2 separate regions of the Homo sapiens genome follow, and region 1 is linked to region 2. The links are contacts of gene promoters, found by promoter capture Hi-C in human tissues and cell types (Jung and others, 2019). All regions are on one chromosome and are shown on one strand. The core of a region is centred on a gene start or on the middle of the fragment in contact, and the rest is flanking DNA. Distances in the headings are between cores, read along the strand shown.

Evidence for each region. Contacts are between HindIII fragments. The study calls those that stand out against the background at their distance.
Region 1: a fragment that was not itself captured here is called in contact with the fragment with the promoter of SLC13A2 in region 2 in 8 of the 25 tissues and cell types used here (IMR-90 fibroblasts, aorta, dorsolateral prefrontal cortex and 5 more).

What each region holds. Positions count from the first base shown.
Region 1 is chr17:28,394,896-28,399,304 of GRCh38, reverse strand. SARM1 (sterile alpha and TIR motif containing 1) reads right to left here. Exons shown (of 9, transcript NM_015077.4): 8 at 3,279-3,400; 9 at 1-3,148. The coding sequence ends at 3,019. It overlaps SLC46A1 (solute carrier family 46 member 1), which reads left to right. Exons shown (of 5, transcript NM_080669.6): 5 at 1-4,409. Among named protein-coding and RNA genes, the nearest start is that of SLC46A1, 9.1 kb to the left of the region's middle. RefSeq lists enhancers at 720-809, 1,574-2,257, 2,941-3,624. The HindIII fragment of the contact is 9,060 bases long and covers 1-4,409 here.
Region 2 is chr17:28,472,326-28,476,765 of GRCh38, reverse strand. SLC13A2 (solute carrier family 13 member 2) reads right to left here and starts at 3,122. Exons shown (of 12, transcript NM_003984.4): 1 at 2,952-3,122. The coding sequence starts at 3,053. The HindIII fragment of the contact is 27,138 bases long and covers 1-4,440 here.

The DNA of each region.
Region 1 (4,409 bases), core at 1,910-4,409, 77 kb after region 2:
GAGGGCTGGCATCTCTCCTTCCAGCCCAAACTGCACAGCCCCAACCAGGTTCCCAACACGTGTAGCAGTCATCAGCCATTCCTTAACAATGAATGTGGTACCTGGTTAGTGCCAGCCTTGGGAAGGAGGGAGGGAGGTAAGAGGGGCTTGGTGATCTCTGGAGGAAGAGTGTTGCCTTTGCTGTGGTTGGGGAATCGATCCTTGGCTATGGCCTACCCACTCCCCTGGCTGAAGAGTGCCAATCATTACAAATCAGCTTCAGCAAACTGAAACAAACCTTCTGGTGCCTTGGGCTTTGGGGCCCTCTGTTTTCCTGCTCCCAGTCTGCCTGCCATACGTTAGACAACAGAAGCTGCTGGGCTGGGCAGGAGCCCTGAGCTGCCTGGTGGATTGGTACCAAGTGGGGCCAGCCAGGGCTTCTACTGACTCGCTGTGCAACCTTGAGCAAGCCCCACTAGGAACGGCTAGATCAGCAATGCCCCAAATTGTTGAATCGTGGTGATCACATTTGGATGGACAAGTTAGGAAACTTAGCTGATTCTCTGAGATACTTCCCACTTCCTCATACATTCTACAATGAGATGCCTCTCTTCATGGGCCTGGGGAAAGGATGAATGAGTGTGGCTGGACTTTTGACCTTTAATGTCCCTGAGCAGTTCTTGGCCCTTGGGGAGAAGTAGGGGGAGGATCTGGCTGACTCAGCCCCAACCGAGGGGTAGCAGCTGCAGCCCAGCCAAGCAGAACACCCTGGCCCTACAGACCTGTGTCTGAGCAGGCTTTGGAGGAAAGGCCACTTCTGAGTCCTCTGTCTCAGGAGAAGCCAGGCCTAGGTGCTTGACCTGGTGATCTGAGCTGTGTTTGTCCTAGTATGGGTGGCAGTCACCTCTGAACACACTGGCCTTGGCTTAGAGGAGGCTTGTGACTTCAGCTGTTCCAGCTGGGGCTGGATGCTGGACTCTGATTCCCTCAGAGAGACAGAAGATCGGGCAGAGGTCAACCAGAAGGCCACACAGGGCAGTGGACAACAGTGGAGGGTATACCAAATAGAAATAAAACGCAGGAAACCTCTCTGAATACTGCCCTTGGGGACCTCAGGAGGGAGTGGGACTGATTGGAGACAAAGAGCCAGAAATCATCCCCTGGAGATACTCAGACACTGTATTGTTATTGGCGCTGTCCTGTGAGGGCAGTGTCCAGGCTGCCCTGCTTGTCATATCCATGCCCTGGCTCTGGCCCCGGTGAGCACTTGTGCTGCATGAGGAAAGGAGGATCAGGTGGGGTCAAAACCAAAGCATCGAGGCTGGCACTGGCCAAGACAGACTCTGGCAGGGAGGGGAGTGGAAGGAAGGAGCCCCAAACCTGGAGTGAGACCTTTGACTTTCTGATGATGTGGCCAAGAACTAGGAGTCACCTGGCCAGCACAGCCAAGAGTGGGGCTGGGGGCGCAGCCAGCTTTAAGGTGTCAACACCTGGCCCTTGCGGGGAAAGAGCCTTCAGCAGCCCCCACGGCCTGGAGCCTGGGTTTATTGGAGGGTGCTTTCTTACCCTCTGAACCCAGTGGAGGAGGGGGCAATGGGATATTCCTGCTCTGTATGGCCTCTGGGTCAGCTTTTTGTTGCAAAATCCTATCCCCCGCTGCTAGATTCTTTGAAGCAAGGGAGAAGCAATAGCCCAGCCTCAGAATGATTCTCAGGAAAGCAATTCCACTGCCAGTGGACTGGGTGCCAGGAGGCCTAGGTCTGGATCTGGGGCTGCCACTAATGACAGGAAAGTGGGCTTATCCTCAACCTTTCTGAGCCTCAGTGTCATTATCTGTAAAATGGGGATGATAATACCAGGTAGAGTTGCTCTGATGACTGGAGACCATGGAGCGGAGTGTTTGGGAAATGGCAAAGATTTGTGAGGGCTTCGTGCTTTAGAGATTTGCTACCCTTAACCACCAGCATCAGCTCACCTGGGAATCTGTAAGAAATGCAGAGTCCTAGGCCCCACCCCAGATCTCCTGATTTTAACAACATTCCCAGGTGACTTGGATGCATGTTAAAGTTGGAGAAGCTGCCCTAAGTGACAACCCTTTGCCTTTTCAGGACTTTGCCTCTTTCCACAGAGCTGCAGGTTCTGTCTAGGCTGCTTTTACTGCCATGGGGGCTGCCTGGTCCCTGAGTAAGCAGTGGGTAGCCCTGGATGGCTGAGGGGCTGGGGAAGCCAGCTGGGCCAGACCAGGAAGGAGCCTGAGGCACAGCACCAAGGCATGGGGTAGGGTGGGCTTTGAGGCACGGCCTCCCCATGCCCAGACCCAGGCCCAAACAGGAGGCTCCTGTGCACCAGCAAGTGCAGCAAAGCTGGCTGCAGTGACAAGGAAGTCAGAGGGAGGGCTGGTTTGCCTCAACCCTCGCCCTGGATGTGGCAAAAGATACCACACCGAAGGAAGCTGTAGGGGATCTGGGACTTAGTCAGGCTAGCTAAGGGCACTGAGTGATTACAGGGCAAGGCCACAGAGCGGCAGGAAGTTGTAAGTGCAGGGGCCAGGCACAGTCTGAGTGGAGAGCCATGATGGCACTCATCCCTGGCTGGCTCCTGGGCCCAGGCCCTTGCTCAGAATACAGTGCCCAGGCCCGCCTGGGCATTGCCTTAATTCCTGTCTGAGGCTGCCTTCCGTCATCCTCCTCAAGCTGACTGCTATCAGCAGGAGAAGGGAATGCAGAACCACCCCCACCCCAACTCCAGTGTCTCCAGAACTGAGCAGGGACCCTCCCCATGACGGAGACAGACAACCCAATGGCAGGGCCTGGGGGAGTTCTAACCTCCCGTGCCCAAGCCTGACTTCCCTTCCCTCTCCAGATACTGAGGAAAGTGGGTTGGAGGTGGGCCATGAGGGTGGGGGACAGGGGGAGGGAGAGCCATTTCCTAAGAAGAGCCCAGGTTGTCTCAGCCCAGGGAGACTGGTTTCAGGAGCTGTTCCTTCAGAAAGGACGATGGAAATGGAAGTCACAGCAGGGCTGGGGAACTGGGGACTGGTTAGGTTGGACCCATGGGTGCAGCACCCTCCAAACTGGTGTCAGAGCCTGCAGATGAGTCCCGGGAGGAGCGGCCCTGCAGGAAGCGGATGATCTTCTCAATGGTGGCCTCCTGGTATTCGTGGGACCACCTGTGGGCACAGGAGCCAATGTGGTTCAGACAGCTGGGCAGAGGGAGCTGCTAGTCAGCTGTTTGCCCACACTCTGCCTGTCATGGTGATTTGTACCCTACCCCCCTGGTCCCAGGGCCCTGGGGCTCACTTGATACCGTTGAAAGTAAGCACAGCCTGCATGTCCTCAGGCAGGACCTGGGGCTCAGGCCACTCGAAGCCATCAATGATGGGCACAATGTTCTTGCCGCAGCTTAAAGCAGTCACAATCTCCTGGAGAAAGAAAGGAAAGGAGGAAGATACCCCTGTACCCATCTAGGGACCCTTGTAGCCAGGCAGGTGCTGGGAGGCCCACTGGCCCGAGGCTGGGCCCAGGGCAGGACACCAGTCCTGATGTCCACCTTGATGTCTACCTTAACCCTTGTAGTGTAATAAAAAATAAATATTTTTCCTTTGCCCAGAGTTCCTGGCACAGAGCTGCTAAAACCCTTGGAATCTCTTGAGTGATGAGTGTCTTTGTATGCTAAAGAGATGATTCCCCACTGGGGGCCCGGGGGGTGCTATGGGGGTAGCCTAGATAGTTTCAGGAAGAGGGCTGGTCACCAGGGAGACCAGGGCATGACTAGAGGATTGGAACTTTCAGCCCCACCTCCCAGCCTCCAGAGAGGTGCTGGAGATTGAGTTCAATCACCAATGGCCAATGATTTAATCAATCATGCCTACATAATGGAACCTCCATAAAAACCCCCAAACAAGGGGTTTTGAAGAGCCTCCAGGTTGATAAACAGGTGTAGGTGCTGGGAAGGTGGTAGAAGGCATGGCATCCACACCTCCACCCTCCATACGTAGAGATCCTATGTATCTCTTCCATTTGGCTATTCTTGAGCTGTGTCCTTTATAACTGTGAAATTAAATAATTCAGCTGGGCATGGTGGGTCACGCCTGTAATCCCAACACTTTGGGAGGCTGAGGCAGGAGGATCACTTGAGCCCAGGATTTTGAGATTAATAATATTATTTATTACTATTATTCAAGCTTTGTTAAATCAAACCTAAAGCTCTTGGAACTTTAAGTTATTCTGAGCCTTGACAGGAATTGGTCTCTGCAGCCTGAGTCATGGGGCATGCAGCTGCAACTTCCACCTATTTTTTTTTTTTCTGTAATTACTTAGGAAGACCAAATGGCACCAGAGATAAGACTCCCTTAGATCCCCACTTAGATCACCACCCTTTCTCAGGGGGTAATAAAGTCATCTTCCTTGGAATGTAGCAATCTATAACCA
Region 2 (4,440 bases), core at 1,873-4,372:
AGAGGAAGTAAAAAATAAGCAAATAGATGATTTCAGAGAGTAAACACCCTATAAACAAAAGAACAGGGCTTTTCCCCAAGAATGACTGGGGTTGGTCAGAGAAGGCTTTTCTAAGGAGGTGGATTTAAGCTGAAACCTAAAAACAGGAAGGAGGTATCTGGGAGAGCAGTCCAGAGCAATGTGAGGAGCAGAAAGAAAGCTGGTGAGGGTGGGGGAGAGTGAGCGAGAGGTGGGTCACAGGGGGAGGGAGCCTGGGGAGTCCAGGGCTGAGCCTTGGTGACTTCTGGCTGCTTGAAGAGGTTTTATCCTAAGTTTGACAGGAAGCCAGTGTAGGGTTTTTTTGTTTGTTTGTTTTTTCAAATTAAGGTGGGGTCTCATTATGTTGCCCAGGCTGGTCTCAAACTCCTGGGCTCAAGCAATTCTCCCGCCTCGTCCTCACAAAGTGCTGGGATTATAGGTGTGAGCCACTGCGCCTGGCCAATGTAGGGTTTTGAGCAGAGTGGGACACATGGGAAATGACCGGGGAGACAGTGGATCCGAGGGCGGGGAGTGACTCCATTCAGAGTATTTTGGGGTATCAAATGAGCAGGACCTTCTGCTGCACGTGGAAAGGAGGGAAGGAGAAGAATCAAGAATGCCCCCGAGTTTTTGGCTGTTGCAGCAAGGTAGATGGTTGAAGCATTTCTTGATGCCTAAGCCAACTGGAGAAGGGCAGGAAGGGTTTTGGTTTGGACGTGGAAAAGTGTAACCTGCTTATCCTGCTTACAAAGAAAATATTCAATTAGGGAGATGGCTGGTGTTCATTGGATAATACCAGTTTAGAGTTTAGGGCTGGGGTTACAGATTGATAACTCATTGGCATAGAGATGCTTTTTAAAGCACGAGATGGCATAAGATCAGCTAGGGGAAGTGGGGACCCTGGAAAACCTCAGAGTCAGATGGAGAAGGAACCTCAGAGTCAGGAAAGGTGGGAAGGGGCAGGGCTGGGCAGGAACCAGGAGAAGGTGTCACCAAAGCCAAGAGAAGACAGCACGGCAAAGACGGGGTGACAGCTGTGACAAATGCTGCCGAGGGACTGAGGAATGTGAGGGTGGCCCAGGGTTTGGTCACAAGGAAGTTGATGGGATCTGAGTCTTGGAGATGGGAGCTGACAAAAGAGAAAGTGCGCTTGTGGTGTAGACAGTGTCTTGAGACTTCCTGTTATGAGAGAGAGCAGAGAAAGAGGCACTATCCTGGAAGGAGCGTGGCCTTGAAAGAGAGCTCTTGTTTGTTTAAGATGAGAGATATTACAGCACCTCCGTATGTGGATGGGGGAGATCAGGCAGAGAGGAAATATTTATCTTGTAGGAGAGTGAGAGGACAATTGCAGGAGCAAAGTCCTTGAGAGGGGCTGGCCTCTCCTAGACAGGACCAGAGTCAGGATGGGGCTGGCAGCATCTGTGAGCCAGAGGCAGGTAGCAGGGCCAGATACGGTGCACAGAAGACAGGGGCTCCTAACACATCCCAGTCTCACCAACAGGCATGGCTTCTAGCACTGACTCAGGATTTCCTGTGTGACCTGGGCAAGTTACTGAATCTTTCTGTGCTGTGCTTCCCCAGGTCGAGGGGAATTGGGAAGAAATCAAAATCCCTGTCTGGCTTCCCTCCTGGGGTTAACACACTTGCCCCAGCCTGTCGGAAAACCCATCTGATGGGTCCCTAGCACTGAGATGCCACCGGCTTTGGCCTGAGATGAAGGTCATCTCAAAGGTCAGCTGGGCCTTGTTACTGACCAGGTGTCAGGGGCCCAGGGGCTGTGCCACTATCACCCCCAGTCTCTCACCCCTTTGGGATACCATGAACAAAAAAGTCTGACTCAATTTCTCTATCTATGACAAAAGGAAGAAAATGGCTTGATGGGCAGTTCTGGGGGTGTGGGGTGGGGCAGGAGGCAGCAGGGTGGAGAGAAGACATGCTTTGGCACCAGATCACACCCCCAGCTCTGAACCTCCCAGCTGTGTGATTTGCCAGAGGCCGACTGACTGAAGATTGAACTTCAAGGCCTTCCCCCTGGACCCTTCCCAAAGCCCCAAACTAATTTCAGATTAATACTTTTGTGTCCTTTTTCTTACAGAGTGGGGCCCAAAAGTGTATAATATCCAAGTTCCATGAAACTTGGATCTGCCCTGGGACTTTGACTAAGTGACTTAACCTCACCTTCCCCATTTGTCAAATGGGACAGTCAGGCCTGACCTCTTAAGATGGTGGAAAAGGTTACTGGGTGCCTAGGGCAGGGCAGGCATTGGCGGCTTGATTTAATGAGAGATGAAGTTATGACTTCTGCTGGGGGCGGAGGAGGAGGCAGTGACGCCTGGTTGTGCCCAGCTCCCCCTCCATCCAGGGCACAGTTTTTGTGCTGTCTACCTGCAGCGGTCCCCTCTTCCAACTCCCACCCCTCCTCCTCCACAGACTTAGCCCTTGAATCCACAGGTGAACTCTTTCTCTTCCTGTTTATGCTCTTAAAGATGCAGACCGCCTGCAGCCAGCTTTCTCCTATTCTCCTTCCAACCCTCTTCACTCTGCTGCTGCTTACCCAGCCGTCCCCTCCCCACAGCCAGCCCATCTCAGCCGCCATGGAGCCCAGTCCAGGGCTAGGTGGGCACACAGTAGGTAGATCAGCTCCATCTGCCCCCCTTGCATCTTGTTGATGGAACTGGTTTCCTGTTTCCTAGGGCAGTAGGTTGCAAACCCACCTAAGTAATTCACGCTGGGCTCCTACAACTGGGTGCCAAGCAAAAGCCCCTTTGACCTCCTAGCCCTCAGTCCTCAGGAGGAGCAGGGGGCGATAGCCTCACTTCCAGGGCAGGGGCAGTGAGGAAGTTATGCTGGATCCTAAGGATGCCCAACCCCGGCCCAGACAGTCCCTCCTCTGCCCCCTGGAGTTATCTGTGCTCAGAACACCAAGTCCTTACCTTACTGGGGACGAGGATGGGCAGAGGCAGCAGGAGAATGGGCACGAAGAACACGATCAGGTAGGAGCGATAGGCCCACAGGGCCTGCCAGCAGGTGGCCATGGTGTGGAGCAGCAAGGGCTGCTACAGCCACTGCCTCCAGGAGCTGGGTAACAGAAGGACCAAAGATGCAGCCAAGCAGGCAGGTGGCAGGCTTATATAAAGCCAGTTGAGTGTTAACCATTGACCCAGTCTGGCAATCAGAGTGTTTTTGGAGTTGGGGAGGTGAGAGTAAGGAGGAGGGACCCACAGGCGGAGTAAAGATCAGGAAGGGAGAGGGAGAAGGAAGGAGGAAAGAACAAGGATTAAAAAACTTCAGGTTCCTTCAAGAAGTTAATCCCAGCGTTAACTCCTTCTGTTCTTGGAGGCTGCTGAGGGTGGTGCTGGAGGAGCTGGAGAAGGAAGGAGAGTCCCCCAGCCACCCTCCACAGGCAGCCCCCAAGCCACCTCCGCTGGCCCGGCCTTTCCTTTCTGCTGTTCTCCAAAGCTAGGTTCTCAGCTGAGCACTTTATGTGACAGCCTGGGTGGGGTGGCCCTGCCCTGCCCACAGAGATGCCCTAGGAATTTTCAGTCTAAGATTGACAGTAGCTAAGGCCTGGAGCAAGTCCTCCTCCTCCTCCTTCCAGGTATCGAGGACCATCAAAGTCCCTGGTCCTGACTACATCTTGTGTGACACTGATCCACCGACTTAACCTCTCAGAATTAGCCACTTCCTTATTCTGCAGTAATATCTTGCTATTGTGAGGCTCAAATTAGACAACTTATATATGTTGAGCTTTGATGCATGGCAGGTGTACGATGAAGGTTAGTTTCTTTCAGGCTCTTCCTAGCCCCCTCGCCCCCCAGCAAAGATTGTCTCTTATTTTGGAAACATACTAGATCTCTCATTTATCCATCATCCATCCATCCATCCATCCATCCATCCAACCATCCATCCATCCATCCCTCCACCAAGCAAGTATTTAGTACCAATTATGTATTCAGCCCTGTGCTCAGTGCTAAAGATACAGAGATTAAAATGCTGCTGCTGCTGCTGGTGGTAAAGACTGACATTTGCTCAGCACTTAGTACAAGTCAGTTACTGTACTTCATCAACTCGGTAACTACACCATGGGTTAGGTGTTACTATTCCATTTAACAGATGGGGGAACTGAGGCCAAAGGACATGGAGCCAGCCAGAATTCACACATGCATTATGGGTATCCTGAGGGAGGTCCAAACCAGGGCAGAAGCTCTGGGTGAAAGGCACCAGGCAAGGGCTCCTGGAAGAGATGGCATCTGAGCGAAGGCTTGAGAGCTCAGTCTTACTTGGCACGAGGTGATAGGGGAAGGGGCACAAGGAGAGGGAAGAGTGAACGAAGGCCTGGAGGGTGGCAAGTGCATGCGTGTGTGTGTGTATGTATGTTGAACGGAGCAAGTTGTAGTTTGGAAGAAATTGTGGGTCTTATCT